Regions from separate parts of the Homo sapiens genome. Here all the other regions are linked to region 5. The links are contacts of gene promoters, found by promoter capture Hi-C in blood cells and fetal thymus (Javierre and others, 2016). All regions are on one chromosome and are shown on one strand. Each heading gives the region's core, a stretch centred on a gene start or on the middle of the fragment in contact. The rest is flanking DNA. Distances are from core to core; before and after follow the strand shown. Region 1 overlaps SH3KBP1 (SH3 domain containing kinase binding protein 1). Region 2 overlaps SH3KBP1 (SH3 domain containing kinase binding protein 1). Region 3 has its middle 3.8 kb from the start of PDHA1. Region 4 overlaps PDHA1 (pyruvate dehydrogenase E1 subunit alpha 1). Region 5 holds the start of EIF1AX-AS1 (EIF1AX antisense RNA 1).

Region 1 (2,700 bases), core at 101-2,600, 530 kb before region 5:
CATATCATTTTTACTCTTTCAAACTCAAGTCCTTAAAATGGCCAAAATGGTTTCTCTATGCCTCAACACCAGGGAGATATTAGGGTAACATATACTTTTCCCTATAAAATGCAAATGATGTTTTTCCTTTTAAGGAATGAATGAATTGAGCATTAGGCGTTGTGTAGTCCAGCCTCTGCGTTCTGCTACATCTCAGGTTATCTACTCCCTCCTAGCATACTGCTTATAACAGGGAACTCACTTTGTCACAAGGGAGCCATTCCTTATTTTGCCTGACATGTTCAAGTGGAACTCAGAGAGAGGTGGAACAGAGCAAGCATGGGCCATGTGACACTTAAGCTGTTCCCTAGTGACGAAAGCTCCCTGGATCTCGGTTTCCTGACACATGTGAAAATCTTTGCAAAGTATAAAGAGTGACACAAGAGCTGGTTGTTGTTATTGTCATCATCGTGATTATATGGCCTGGTCCGAATCCCTGAGGGACAATGTGACCAGGAGAGCTGCTTAATTACACTCATGTGCATTTGTCATGCGACCCAGCGCCATCCTCGAGTGCCAAGGAGCCACTCCTAGTCCCTGCTGCCTCAGGTGAAACCCCCTGGCAGCAGCTCACACACTTGGAGGGGGTCCAAGGGGAGGGATGCCAAGGCCCCGGGGTGTGTCTGAGGAAGGAGGCCTTGCCCAGACTTCAGTATCGGGCCTCAGTCTGTTCAATCTTGCCAGCATGGCCCCGTGTAACCTGGCCGAAGTGCTCCACACAGCTGAGAGCGACTCCCTGACATACAACCTGTGGGCACAGAGAGGGCACGTGAGACCTGGTGTGCCTACCTCTAGTCTAGGCACTTCAAATCTGTAGAAAAGACAAACTTGCCACCTAGCTTGTACATTGGTTAACAGAATGAGCTACAATCTCATCTTGGGCTGTTTTGTCAAGAGTACAAAGCCATGTACTAGATGAGTGGCTCTCACACCTGTCTGCACATTTAGAATCACCTGGGAATTTAAAAGAAAATGCCGATGTCTGGGCCAGACTCCATACCCATTAAATCACAATTTGGGGGTGGGGAATGGGCACAGGAAATCAGTGCTTTTACAATGTCCCTAGGTTTTTCCAGTGTGTAGGCTGAGAATCAGTGATTTAAGAGGAACGCTTCTCAAGCTTTAATGTGCATGCTTCTCACTTAGGGATTTTGTGAAAATGCCAATTCAAATTCAGTAGGTCTGGGGCAAGTCTGAGATTCTACACTTCTAAGAGGTTCCCAGGTGATGCCAATGCCGCTACTCCGTGGACCATACTTTGAGTCACAAGGTTCCTGAAAACGATAAGCTCCTTGAAAATGAGGATTCTTATCTTCACACCTCTGTCTCCATCTAATTCCTGCCGTAGTGCCCGGAACATGTCAATTCTGAATAAATGTTGACTGAATAGATGAATGACCCAATCTTCCTCCAGACTGTTGTTCCACTTCTCTCCACTTTCAAACATCAGAAGTGAGGTCAAACTGAACAAGGGGGAAGCAGGTATAGAATTCCTACACAAAGGAAGCTTCATCTATATGATCAGGCTTTACCTGCTGATCTGTTCTGAATTTATTATTTATTCAAAATTGTGGCAAAAACTTTAAAATTACCCCAAAAAGGAAGGCTACATTTTCTCAGGCATTGTAAGTGTCTTCTTTGAGTTCAAATGGGAACATGCAGCTTAGAAACAGACATTTCAAACCAAAAACTGAAAACATAAAAATGGGTACACCACTTGATGCAAACGAAAAAGAAATGTATTCTGCTCAGTCACTTCTGGTGGTCAGCTGCCCCCAGGCTCCCCAGTCCCAATTTCCCAGAAGTTATCCAGCATGGCTGTTCTTCATGACCTTCCCTGATATCATTTGAGGAGAAAATGAGTGTTGGACAATTTGGGTGAGGCTGTTAAGTGAGCCTCAGCATGCCCCCAGAGGGCCTCACACCCTCAGCATCCACCAGCAGTATGGAAACAGGCATTTAATATTTGCTAATGAACGCCTTCTGCATAGAGCTTAGGGGTGGGGGCTATTGAGCGAAAGTTCCATGGAAGCCGGGGCCCAGAAGCACTCATCTCTGCCTCTGCTTGTTAACACCTCCCCAAGAGATGCAATTATTCTGCATGGCTGGGATTTCTCTCAGAATTTTCTACATCCCCATAAATCAGTTACTAAAGGAGGCTCAGCCACATATCATGGTTTATAAGGTAAGAAGAAAAAACGAGGACTACACTGACTACTATTCAGTGTCAGAAGCAATGCCTGGCAGGCCAAAAGTAAAGAAAGAAGCCTGAGGAGACAGTCCTAGGGACGAGCTTACTCAAGAAAACACTACATTCCAAATGCCAACATCACAGGATAACTAAGGCTTAGGCAGTCATTCACTTTTTTTTTTTTTTTTTAGACGGGGCCTCACTCTGTTGCCCAGGCTGGAGTGCAGTGGCATTCCAAAGTAGAGCCATTGTTGAACGTCTTTATACAGAAGGATAAATACATCATGGCTCACTGCAGCCTTGACCTCTCAGGCTCAAGCAATCCTTCCACTCAGTCTCTCGAGCAGCCAAGACTACAGGCATACTCCATCATGCATGGCTAATTTTTTAATTTTTTGTAGAGTCAGGGTCTTGCCATGTTACCCAGGCTAGTCTCAAATTCCTAAACTCAAGTGATCTGCCCGCCTCGG
Region 2 (2,700 bases), core at 139-2,638, 580 kb before region 5:
GTGAGCATTTGGGGCTGCCTGCAAGTCCACACAGCTACTAGCCTCTGTGACCCTCTCCAAGCCAACAGCCATCTGAATTGATGCTCCCTAAATGTCCCTCCACCTCTCTCAGGTCAGCTATTTTGCAGGCTGGTGGGTATAGAGCACTTGGGTAGGACAGTACTAATTTGCTCTCTGTATATTGGAATAATTCATACCACCAAATGCACTGCTGCAGTGAGGTTCTGCAACATTTGCCATCATGTCCCCACTTTGACGTAATCTCCCCCTGTTTCTATAGCATTTGTGAGGCTTTTCCTACAGGCACTTTCAATGTTTACTGAGTTTGCGCTTATGGGATGTTATGGGGTAAAAGATGTTCGTGAAGACCCTCATAACTAAGCACAAACCCAGCCACCGTGATGGACCACCAAAGGCCAGCAGGACCGCCCTGTGCAAGGTGCACAGGCAGAGGTGAGCACCTCGGTTCTGGTGAGGATCAACATCTTTGACTGAGAAAGTCTAAGTGGAGATGCTCATTTTACACCCAAGATCAGGCCCTTCAAAGGGCCCTGAAGGACCATCTCCTGTAGGACTGGAGGATGCCTTTCGAAATGAGTGCTGGTTGCCAACTTGACCTTGTTTCCTCAGCAGCACACCTCCACTGTGAGCCTGAGAGGCTGGGAACCAGGGGAGGGCTCAAGGGCGATGCAGGGAGAAGGCCATCCACAGAAGCTGTTCTGAATTAGCTACGCCTCTGTAAGTTCGAGGAAGGAACCCAAAATGCTCAGAGGATTGCCTGGGTTAAAAACCCATCAATCAGAAGCGCAACCTGTTTCACTTCCTTTGTATAAAGCGTTTGACCCTCAGCACAATCTCTTTTGCTTTCTGTCATCACACTTGAGAAATGTATAGTGCTTTTCAGCTACTCCTGACAAAAATTTAAGTTTGATCACGATTTGTGTCCCTAGATAGGGACCGGAGCTGCACACGTCCACACATGGGCACCGCAGCCCGTCATATGCAGACTTGACTGTAGACCAGTAGCAACCGTATCTCCTGTTCTTCAGCACAGGTAACATCAACCATGTCCTTGGTCCCAAAGGCTGTGTCTGAAGGTTGCCAGTAAGGAGACAGTGTCTGTAGGAGCCAGCCGTGGCTCTTCAGTGAAAGTTCTCATGTCTGAGCAACTAATCCCGAGAGAGCTGGAAGGCGCGGCTGTTGTTCACACACACGCTCAGCCAGTAGTCAATCTGGAACACTCCAAGTGTCATTCATGGGTTTTTGTTTTTTTTTAATGGCAGGCAGGACACAGTATATCTTGTTTTATTGAACCTGAGCAATTGCTCAATGATCTGACATGCTGCAAGGACCAATAACTGGCTCTCTGGCTCCAAAAGGGGAAGTTTAAAATATGTATTTTAAAAACAGGACAGAAAAACCAATAGCCCCAAGTCAGGAGATCTGAATTTTTCCTCAAAATTTGTATGAGAAACCCTTAGAAGTGATTTATTATCATGAAAGGTAGAAATTGCAAAATAAGGTAAGAATGTAATCACTTGTTTGTAGACATTTGGTGTCACATTCACAAAAATGTTGTGTTAATGGTCGCTATTACAATTGCTCTCTCTTGCTCTCCTGTATAACTTTACCATACAGAGTACAGATTTAGAACTTAGTATTGATCAAATTTGTTATTGTCCTTTTATGTAATACCCGTTTAAACACTGGGTAGTTGATCTTTGGCAAATATCTAATCACAAATCCAATACTCTTTCTATTTGAAATCAGACTCAAATGGTATCATTTCACTTGCTGCAAGCCTTAAGATGGCCCCTCTCCCCTCTCTTCTCTCGCCTCTCTCTCTCTCTCCCCCCCCTTCCTCTTTCTCTCTCACAAAGGTCACAGTCATGTCCTTGGTTGATGTTTAATTACTTCAAATATAATTACTTTTTTGTATATGAAATATTTTCAAACTAGGTTTTATAGAGATTCTCAGGAAATGAGACAGGCCACTCCAGGGAACACAAGTTGCACTTGCAGGGGAAGCCTGTCCTCTTCCTGTTCCTAACACAGACTGGGCTCTCTGGGCCTCGGTGCTATTGACATTTGGGGCTGGGTCATTCTTTGTTGTCTGTGGGGGCTATCCTACACACTGGTGGATGGTTAGCAGCATCCTTGGCCTCTATCCACTAGATGCCAGTAGCATCTCCACCCCCACCCCTATGATGTGACAGTCAAAAATGTCTCCAGACATTGCCAAATGTCCCCTTGGGGAGAGCAGTTGAGAAATGCTGATGTGGACCTAGAAGGTTTGGGCTCATGGGTCAGAGAGACCTGGCTTCAACTCCAATTTTTTTTTTTTTTTTTTTTTTTTTTTGAGGCGAAGTCTCGCTCTTGTCCCCCAGGCTGGAGTGCAGTGGTGCAATCTTGGCTCACTGCAACCTCCGCCTCCCGGGTTCAAGCGATTCTCCTGCCTCAGCCTCCCAAGTAGCTGGGATTACAGGCGCCTACCACCACACCCAGCTAATTTCTGTATTTTTAGTAGAGACAGGGTTTCACCATGTTGGCCAGGCTGGTCTCGAACTCCTGACCTCAGGTGATCTGCCCGCCTTGGCCTCCCAAAGCGCTGGGATTACAGGTGTAAGCCACCGCGCCTGGCCTTCAACTCCAATTTCTTACTAGCCAGATAATCTTGCTCAGTTTCCCCAGCTTGCTTTC
Region 3 (2,700 bases), core at 174-2,673, 800 kb before region 5:
GCCCAGATAATTTTTGTCTTTTTTGTAGAGATGGGGTTTCACCACGTTTGCTAGGTTGGTCTCAAATTCCTGGGCTCAAGCAATCCACCTGCCTCAGCCTCGGAAAGTGCTAAGATTACAGGTATGAGCCATCAAGCCCAATCAGTGTTTGTTGTTTATAAGTTACCCAGTCTCACGTATTTTGTTAAAGCCGCCCAAACATTACAAATCCCCCAACAGCTTGATCTAGTACTTCCTCAGGGGTTACAACACAGGGATATTAAAATTATATGGTTCCTTTTTTATTTACTGCTGGAAATTATTCTATAAAGAACTATTCCTCATCAACTGTTTGTTGACATTGAAATTCAGTCTATGTAAGAAAGACAGGATAAATCCTTGGTTCTTTCCCTTTGCCAGATTTCAGAATAATTACTATTGGGCTGGTCTTTGCTTCTAGGTATTTCCAGTGGAGAGAGTTAAGATACACACACACATACACACACACACACACACACACACACATCGTTTTTGCTTTGAGACACAGTCTCATTCTGTTGCTCAGGCTAGAGTGCACTGGCACGATGATGGCTCACTGCAGCCTCCACTTCCCAGGCACAGGTGATCCTCCTACCTTGGCCTCCCTAGTAGCTAGGACTGCTGGTATGCGCCACCATGGCCGGCTAATTTTTTATATCGTGTAGAGACAGGGTCTTACCATGTTGCCCAGGCTGGTCTTGAACTCCTGAGCTCAAGTGATCTGCCCACCTTGGCCTCCTAAAGTACTGGGATTACAAGTGTGAGCTACCGAGCCTAGCCAAGATGTATGTATGTGTGTGTGTGTGTGTGTGTGTGTGTATCTTGAGGGGGGGAAATAATCATGAGTTTATACTGATATTTCCAATTCAAATTCAGGACCTCTTGGCTTTGACCTGTTGAATTTTACATTTGTGTCTCTGTTTTTTATACTGAAAATCTTGGTTCCCAATGGCATTAACATAATTATATATTTACTTTATCAGTGTGGGTATGTGCAGTCTTAAATAATAACACCTGACAAATGAGAACAATTTAAGATTTTTTTCTGTAGAGATGGGGTCTCCCTATGTTGCCTAGGCTGGTCTCAAACTCCCGGGTTCAAATGATCCTCCCACCTCAGCCTCCCAAAGTGCTAGGATTACAGGTGTGAGCCTCGCCTTAAGATTTTTTTTTCCAGTTCCTTTTGTCTTTAGGCTATACCCCACCAGGCATATGCAGTCACATTGCTGTGGTGTGAAATAACTTGAAATCATTCTCTGCGGGGTTATGCTGACAACTTGGTATGTTATTAAATTGGTTTGTTATATTTCATTTCCATTGTTATGTCATTGTGTTTTATGGTCGTGTAAAAACATTTATATGGTTCCAAAGTTAAAATGACCCCTAGCCATAATCCTTTCACCAGCTGCTGCTTAGTACCTCAAAGACATTTGCAAAGATTTGTTGACTTTTATGACACATGTATATGATTGTCCTACTCTAATTCATCTGCTGGGGGATGGGTGTTTCTTACTGGAAAACCGGAGACATGTCAAGGAGCATGATTTGCCTTAAAGCTCAGCTTGATCGAATACTTGTAGGGTGATTCGCTAACGAAAGGTAAAAAGGCATATTTCAGGGTCTCTAATCAAAATTGCCCTGCTTCACCCAGATACGTTTTTTTTGTTTTGTTTTTTAGAGAGATGGGGTCTCGCCCTGTCACCCAGGCCGCCATGCAGCGATGCCGCCATAGCTTACTGCAGCCTCAAACTCCTAGGCTCAAGCAATCCTCCCTCGTCAGCATCCCTAGTAGCTGGGACTACAGGCATGCAACACCATACCAGACTAATTATTTTATTTTTTGTACAGACGAGTATCACTTTGTGGCCCAGGCTGGCCTCAAACTCCTGGCCTCAAGTGATCCTCCTGCCTTGGTCTCCCAAAGTGCTGGGATTACAATTTCCCCCAAGATTAACGAGCCCTCCTTTCTTAAGACTTTCTCTTCCCGCCTTTTGCAAATCTTTCTTTCTCTCCGGCCTCCTCTCCTGATACAAGAGTCTTTTGTGAATGTTCTAGCGCGTTACTATAGCCTATAGTTATTATAGCCTATAGTTAATGACTATAACATTACTATAACGTTACTATAGCCTATAGTTAATGACTATTAACCACAATCATCACCTGTCACCACTTGACACAGCATCTCACAGTGTCCCTCACCTTCAAAGTTGCTTCCAACTCTGCTTTCAAATATCTGAAAACAGCTGGGCGCGGTGGCTCACACCTGTAATCCCAGCACTTTGGGAGGCCAAGGTGGGCAGATCACCTGAGGTCAGGAGTTTGAGACCAGCCTGGCCAACATGGTGAAACCCCGTCTCTACTAAAAAAATACAAAATTAGTCGGGCATGGTGGTGCTCGCCCGTTTTCCCAGCTACTCGGGAGGCTGAATGAGGAGTATCACTTGAACCTGGGAGTCAGATGTTGCAGTGAGCCAAGATGTCACCACTGTACTCCATCCTGGGCAACAGAGTGAGAATCTGTCTCAAAAAAAAAAAAAAAAAAAAGAGGCCGGGCGCAGTGTCTCATGCCTATAATCCCAGCACTTTGGGAGGCTGAGACGGGCGGATCACGAGGTCAGGAGATCAAGACCATACTGTCTAACATGGTGAAACCCTGTCTCTACGAAAAATACAAAAAAAATT
Region 4 (2,700 bases), core at 83-2,582, 780 kb before region 5:
ATATACCTTAATTGTAGAGGGAAATTGTTACATAAAACAGGGCTGATGGTAGTGTAGTATCTTGGGGGCATTTAGCTTTTGTAGGCATTACCCCAAGTCTACACCTGGCATACTCTACCTGAAGAGGATCAGAATTTGGAGATGTTCCTCTGTCTGGTATAGAGCTAAGGGTAACTGGGTGTTCAATCCGTTGAAATACATCAATCAAAAAAGCTAGGTTCCACTAGGAAGGCATGAATTTTACTTTTTTGCTTAGTAGCTCTGGCCTGTGATTCTGGAATCCCAGTTTTGACACAGTTGAATAAATAAGCCTTTGTAGAGTGGACTTCTAAGGAAAAATCATGTAGAGAGCACAGTATATGGAAAAATGCACTTTGTGTAAATCTATTGTTGAAAATGGTAGAATCCTTTTAGTGTTACTTCAGATGATATAGGCATAAGATACATTGGTTTTGCTGGCTGTGCTTCTTTAGGGGGACTTAAGGGAGAAAGGCAAGGCACATGGATTTCCTGCTTGGCGCTCTGATGTCTCAAAGTCTAATTATCACCACACACACCATCTCTGCTGTCCCCACCCATGTAGTATACAGGAGCCCAAATGGGTGGGACAAGTGACACTTCTTTAGAACCTTACATCTAAATCAAAGCAGCAAGCAAAAACTTGGCCCCTGTTGTCGGAATGCCAGGGAAGCCATGTGACTCACCAGTGTACGGTTTTCTAGAAAAGACAGAAGCAGTTATTACAGAATGTTAGGCTGCGTTCTGGTATTTTGAAAGTATAACAACAACTCTGCCACGCCTATAGTGACATAAGCATTGGTATGCCCCTTTGTTTCAGAAACACACTTCTGTATTTCACCTCATTGGGACAATCCAACCCCATATCATGTTTCATCACGCCGTCCTTGCTCTACTGGAACTGCTCTTACTGATCGATTACTACTTTTCCCTCCCCATAGTTACCGTACACGAGAAGAAATTCAGGAAGTAAGAAGTAAGAGTGACCCTATTATGCTTCTCAAGGACAGGATGGTGAACAGCAATCTTGCCAGTGTGGAAGAACTAAAGGTACAGTCACTTGTTCATGGTGGTTTGAAGGTTGGCTTTAAAAGTTGCCACCCCTGGGTGGCCACAGAGTTTGTGTGGGTTCCTCCAAGCCCAGAAAGTGATGTCCTGGGACATAAATAGTTCCATAGTTCCAAAGTCCCTTGGGGTGGGGGCTTTTCCTTTAGTTTCCTCTATTCAAAATTGTATTACTCTTCAGATTTCAGATTTTGGTGGACTGTGAACCACCATCACAGTGGCAAAGCCCCCACAGTAGTATGGTTCTTTTTTCCTAAAAGTATACTGTGGATTTTTAATTCATAAAATAGATACACCCTAGAAATCTGTATTCCAAAATCTTCTGAATTAGCAACTGTTCGTACTTGTAGTTAAAGAGTTACACCAGCAACAGGTCCTCAGCAGAACTCTAGTTGGTACCTAAGCTGCTGTTCATTCTAAAACCTTTTACACTGTTACCTAATTTTTAGGAAATTGATGTGGAAGTGAGGAAGGAGATTGAGGATGCTGCCCAGTTTGCCACGGCCGATCCTGAGCCACCTTTGGAAGAGCTGGGCTACCACATCTACTCCAGCGACCCACCTTTTGAAGTTCGTGGTGCCAATCAGTGGATCAAGTTTAAGTCAGTCAGTTAAGGGGAGGAGAAGGAGAGGTTATACCTTCAGGGGGCTACCAGACAGTGTTCTCAACTTGGTTAAGGAGGAAGAAAACCCAGTCAATGAAATTCAATGAAATTCTTGGAAACTTCCATTAAGTGTGTAGATTGAGCAGGTAGTAATTGCATGCAGTTTGTACATTAGTGCATTAAAAGATGAATTATTGAGTGCTTAAAGATTATTTTTGACTTAAAATAGTATACTTTGAACAAATACTCTAATTATGAAAAGGAAGAACAATTCCTTGTATGCCTGTTTCCCCTGCCCCCAGCCACCTTTTTGGGAGGAGACCATTATGGCGGGGCCCCTCACAGCATTCTACCAACCATAGCACCCACCCCGAGCAGCGCTGGTGCTGCAGCCTGTTCGCGCTGACCATTTCTCTACAAGATACAATATTTATTATCAGGCAAGAGGACAGTTCCATTTTAAAATAAGACTTTTGTAATCATTCCAATTTTGTAATCATTTCAAAGGCCACATAACTTAGTTTTCTCTACTTACACATTCAGTATAAATATGAAGCTATTTTCTGTTCATATCAAACATTAACTACAAGGCACATTCGTATCAGTTTTGTGTTTCTCAAATTGAAGTACCATACCAGTTCTGAGGCAGTGTCCCAGCTTCCATGTTTGTTAAATACCCCTTGTTTGTTTCACCATTCCAGCAAGTGCTGAAGGGTGTACTTTTTTTGAGACAGGGTCGGGCTCTGTTGCCCAGGCTGGAGTGCAGTGGTGTGATCATGGCTCACTGCAGCCTCCACACCTCCTGGGCTCAAGCAATCCTCCCACCTCAGCCTCCTGCATAGCTGGGACTACAAGTGAATTTCCTAATATTCCGGGAGGTCAAAACCAAGGCTCACTGTTTTCACAATACACACAGTTCTATGTTTATAAATAACAGGTTTCAAAAGAAACTCAGGACAGTATTTAAAACAAGTTCTTAAACTATTAATTGAACAATGGCATTTTTAAATATG
Region 5 (2,700 bases), core at 56-2,555:
ATTATCTGTAAAACAGTATGAAATAAAATGAAATTAAGGCTTATAAAACCATTTTTTAAAAGATCACTTAAATTAAAAAATTCATCTATTTTAGCTACACAATCATATTAAATTTACAATCTCCAATCCCAACATTAACACATTATCACCTCCCTACCCTTCTTGGAATTTCCTTTGGGGATTTTTCTGACATAAAATACACATAAATAGCAGATATTATGTTAAAAAATATAGAAAAACATTTCACTTTAGCACCCATCCTTTTGAAATAAAAATGCAATTCTATACATATTCTTCTAAGCGGAAATCTTGGGTGTCTTCTAAAGCCAGGCCCTATGCAAGGAACCCGATACTTTCAAAATTAAGTGAAGACAGTGTCTGGACAGAGAACTGTGGTTTTCAAACTTTTGGTAGCAGAGTACCATAAATATTGAAATCTCACTGGGTGCAGTGGTGTGCGCCTAGGGTCTCAGCTACTCAGGAGGCTCAGGTGGGAGGATCACTTGAGCAAGCCCAGGAGGTTCCAGGCTAGCCTGGGCAACATAGCGAGACACTGTCTCTTAAAAAATAAAGAAGATCTGTTCGGTACCCAATTTACTTTCTTTTATAATGCTGGTCCCTACTCAACATCCCTGTTTCTATTATATGACCCCAGTGACCATGCTCTTAACCACTATGCAATAATTCTGCCCATTTACTTGTCACAATCACCCCATGAGGTCATAACATTCATTTATTCCCAGTTTACCCATGAGTTCCCTGAAGCTCAGAGAAGTTAAGTAAGTCGCTTAGCTTCAGTGAGTAAATCAGTTCACTGATTACAGTCAGTAAGCTGGGGTGACCAAAGTCACAATGTTTTTTTTGCCCCTAGCCCCCACATAAGCTTACCTCTCCACAGCATTTTGCTCCCATTCCAGAAAGGAAACCACATTGGCAGCCATTTCCAAAAGGCAGGAAAAAGGCTGTAAGTGGTAATGACCCTAAGAGACTCATGGGAAGAGCTTGGAAGCAGCAAAAAAAAATGGAGGACACTTAAATTAGGTCATGAAAAGTACCATTCCTCTAAGTAAGATAACTAAGAACTGATTGGTTTCAGACAGTACAGGAATGATAAACACCAAACTCAGCCTGGTGATTACCTCCAAAAAGAGAGTAAAAGGTGATTAGGGCTTTACCTCAATCTGCGCTGTAATTCTTAAATTCAGAGTAATGGGTTCCCAGGTATATCATGTTAGCTGTATTTTTTGTATGCCTCAAATGTTATTTAAGAAAAGACTAATTACTTGTCAATTTACCAGAATTAACCATACCCGGATCACTCCCCTTTGTATTTTATTGCCATGTAATGGGATGTTCTTTAAATTCTCTGTTGAATGAATGAGACTAGGTCTGAGTGTACAACAATTAAAGTGACATCAACATTCTTTAAACCAGAGTTGTTTTGGAGAAATTCCCAGAGAGGCTCTTTCTTAAGACATGAGGCTAGGGAACTAGATGTGATTTAGTGTAGAAGTCCTATCCCCTTGGAACCAAAGCAGAACCTATTATTCACTAAGGGTGGAGTCGACAGGAGGTAGGTGACTTAAACCAACAAATATTTATTAAGCATCTACTAATTGTCAAGTGCTGGCAATCCAATGAGATTAAGACAGATACTATTCCTGCCTTGTAGAGCTTACAGCCTGGTGGAAGAATTGGAAATCTTATTACTAGAAATAAAGGTGAGAATAAGATGGAAGTGATCCCCTTACCACCTCAGAGAGAATAAAGGATTATACAGAAGAAAACTGTAAGACTTTAAAATTTTTTGTTTATAACTCCATCTTTTCCAAAATAATGAGCAGTGACTGCACCAACTTGTGCACAGAACACCTCGACCAAGTACCCTAAGGGATAAAGTAATAAGTGACAGCTACAAAGAGGAAATGTGGTAGAATCCCTGGAGCCAGCTGTCAAGTAGAAAAGAGAGCAGAAGTAGGCCTGTGTCAGGGGAGGGTTTCCTCTAGAATGAATAATCAAAGGAGACTACTTACGGACTATGAAGTATGCTCCTCTCCTGTAGGAAAATACAGTATTTTCCCTATATTTACTTGCACAATTTTCTTCAAGTTATACGGCTATTAAAAATGACAGGAACACTGTAAATCTATAAAAGTAATTTCTTTAGGAGTGTTCTGTTTTTTGTTTTTGTTTTTTTTTTTTTAAGATTAGGCCTTCCGTTTTGGAAATCCCAAATAAAGTTATCCTCAAGTCTGATCATTTGTGAACGCTTAGCCTCAGAATGGAGGACACTTAAATTAGGTCTTTATTCTCACAACATATGCATCATCTGAAGCAAAAGTAGAAAACTTGGCTCAATATGGAATAAGTCTTCAGCAAACAAACATAAGCTATATCCTGTAAAGGGATGGAGAGAGTAAATCTCTAGAGGTGAGCCTTAGAAATGTATCAAGGTTTCACCCACTGTTCACAAGGGACAGCGAGTAGCCTCAACAATACTGAACTGTCCATAAAGAAACCCATGCAGGAGTACCTGGTGCTCACGAATGCAGACAGCACTCTGAAAGTTCAGAACGGCTTCCAGGGATTATAACCCCTCATGCCCGGGAAGGCCAAAGGGGCCTATCTACTAAACCTAGGCCGCCCCGGGGAAGGTTCCCGCCACCGTCCCCACCGAGCAGCGGTCAGTCTGGCGCGAAT

Evidence for each region. The method cuts DNA at HindIII sites, captures the fragments that hold promoters and counts their contacts. A CHiCAGO score of 5 or more calls a contact.
Region 1: a fragment that was not itself captured here is called in contact with the fragment with the promoter of EIF1AX-AS1 in region 5 in 1 of 17 cell types (activated CD4 T cells); the score reaches 5.7 in activated CD4 T cells.
Region 2: a contact is called between a fragment that was not itself captured here and the fragment with the promoter of EIF1AX-AS1 in region 5, in 1 of 17 cell types (naive CD4 T cells). The highest score is 5.6, in naive CD4 T cells.
Region 3: a fragment that was not itself captured here is called in contact with the fragment with the promoter of EIF1AX-AS1 in region 5 in 6 of 17 cell types (neutrophils, total CD4 T cells, total CD8 T cells and 3 more); the score reaches 9.0 in neutrophils.
Region 4: a contact is called between a fragment that was not itself captured here and the fragment with the promoter of EIF1AX-AS1 in region 5, in 1 of 17 cell types (neutrophils). The highest score is 10.2, in neutrophils.

What each region holds. Positions count from the first base shown.
Region 1 is chrX:19,613,516-19,616,215 of GRCh38, forward strand. The region is part of intron 8 of SH3KBP1 (SH3 domain containing kinase binding protein 1); the gene reads right to left. Among named protein-coding and RNA genes, the nearest start is that of MAP3K15, 99 kb to the left of the region's middle. The HindIII fragment of the contact is 387 bases long and covers 1,158-1,544 here.
Region 2 is chrX:19,562,720-19,565,419 of GRCh38, forward strand. All of the region lies in intron 13 of SH3KBP1 (SH3 domain containing kinase binding protein 1), which reads right to left. Among named protein-coding and RNA genes, the nearest start is that of MAP3K15, 49 kb to the left of the region's middle. The HindIII fragment of the contact is 4,351 bases long and covers 1-2,700 here.
Region 3 is chrX:19,338,754-19,341,453 of GRCh38, forward strand. No RefSeq gene overlaps it. Among named protein-coding and RNA genes, the nearest start is that of PDHA1, 3.8 kb to the right of the region's middle. The HindIII fragment of the contact is 5,401 bases long and covers 1-2,700 here.
Region 4 is chrX:19,357,957-19,360,656 of GRCh38, forward strand. It overlaps PDHA1 (pyruvate dehydrogenase E1 subunit alpha 1), which reads left to right. Exons shown (of 11, transcript NM_000284.4): 10 at 960-1,068; 11 at 1,533-2,700. The coding sequence ends at 1,697. It overlaps MAP3K15 (mitogen-activated protein kinase kinase kinase 15), which reads right to left. Exons shown (of 29, transcript NM_001001671.4): 29 at 2,103-2,700. Among named protein-coding and RNA genes, the nearest start is that of PDHA1, 15 kb to the left of the region's middle. The HindIII fragment of the contact is 2,804 bases long and covers 1-2,700 here.
Region 5 is chrX:20,138,663-20,141,362 of GRCh38, forward strand. It overlaps EIF1AX-AS1 (EIF1AX antisense RNA 1), which reads left to right and starts at 1,306. Exons shown (of 2, transcript NR_046592.2): 1 at 1,306-1,573; 2 at 1,673-1,782. The region is part of intron 1 of EIF1AX (eukaryotic translation initiation factor 1A X-linked); the gene reads right to left. RefSeq lists an enhancer at 2,418-2,577. The HindIII fragment of the contact is 4,524 bases long and covers 882-2,700 here.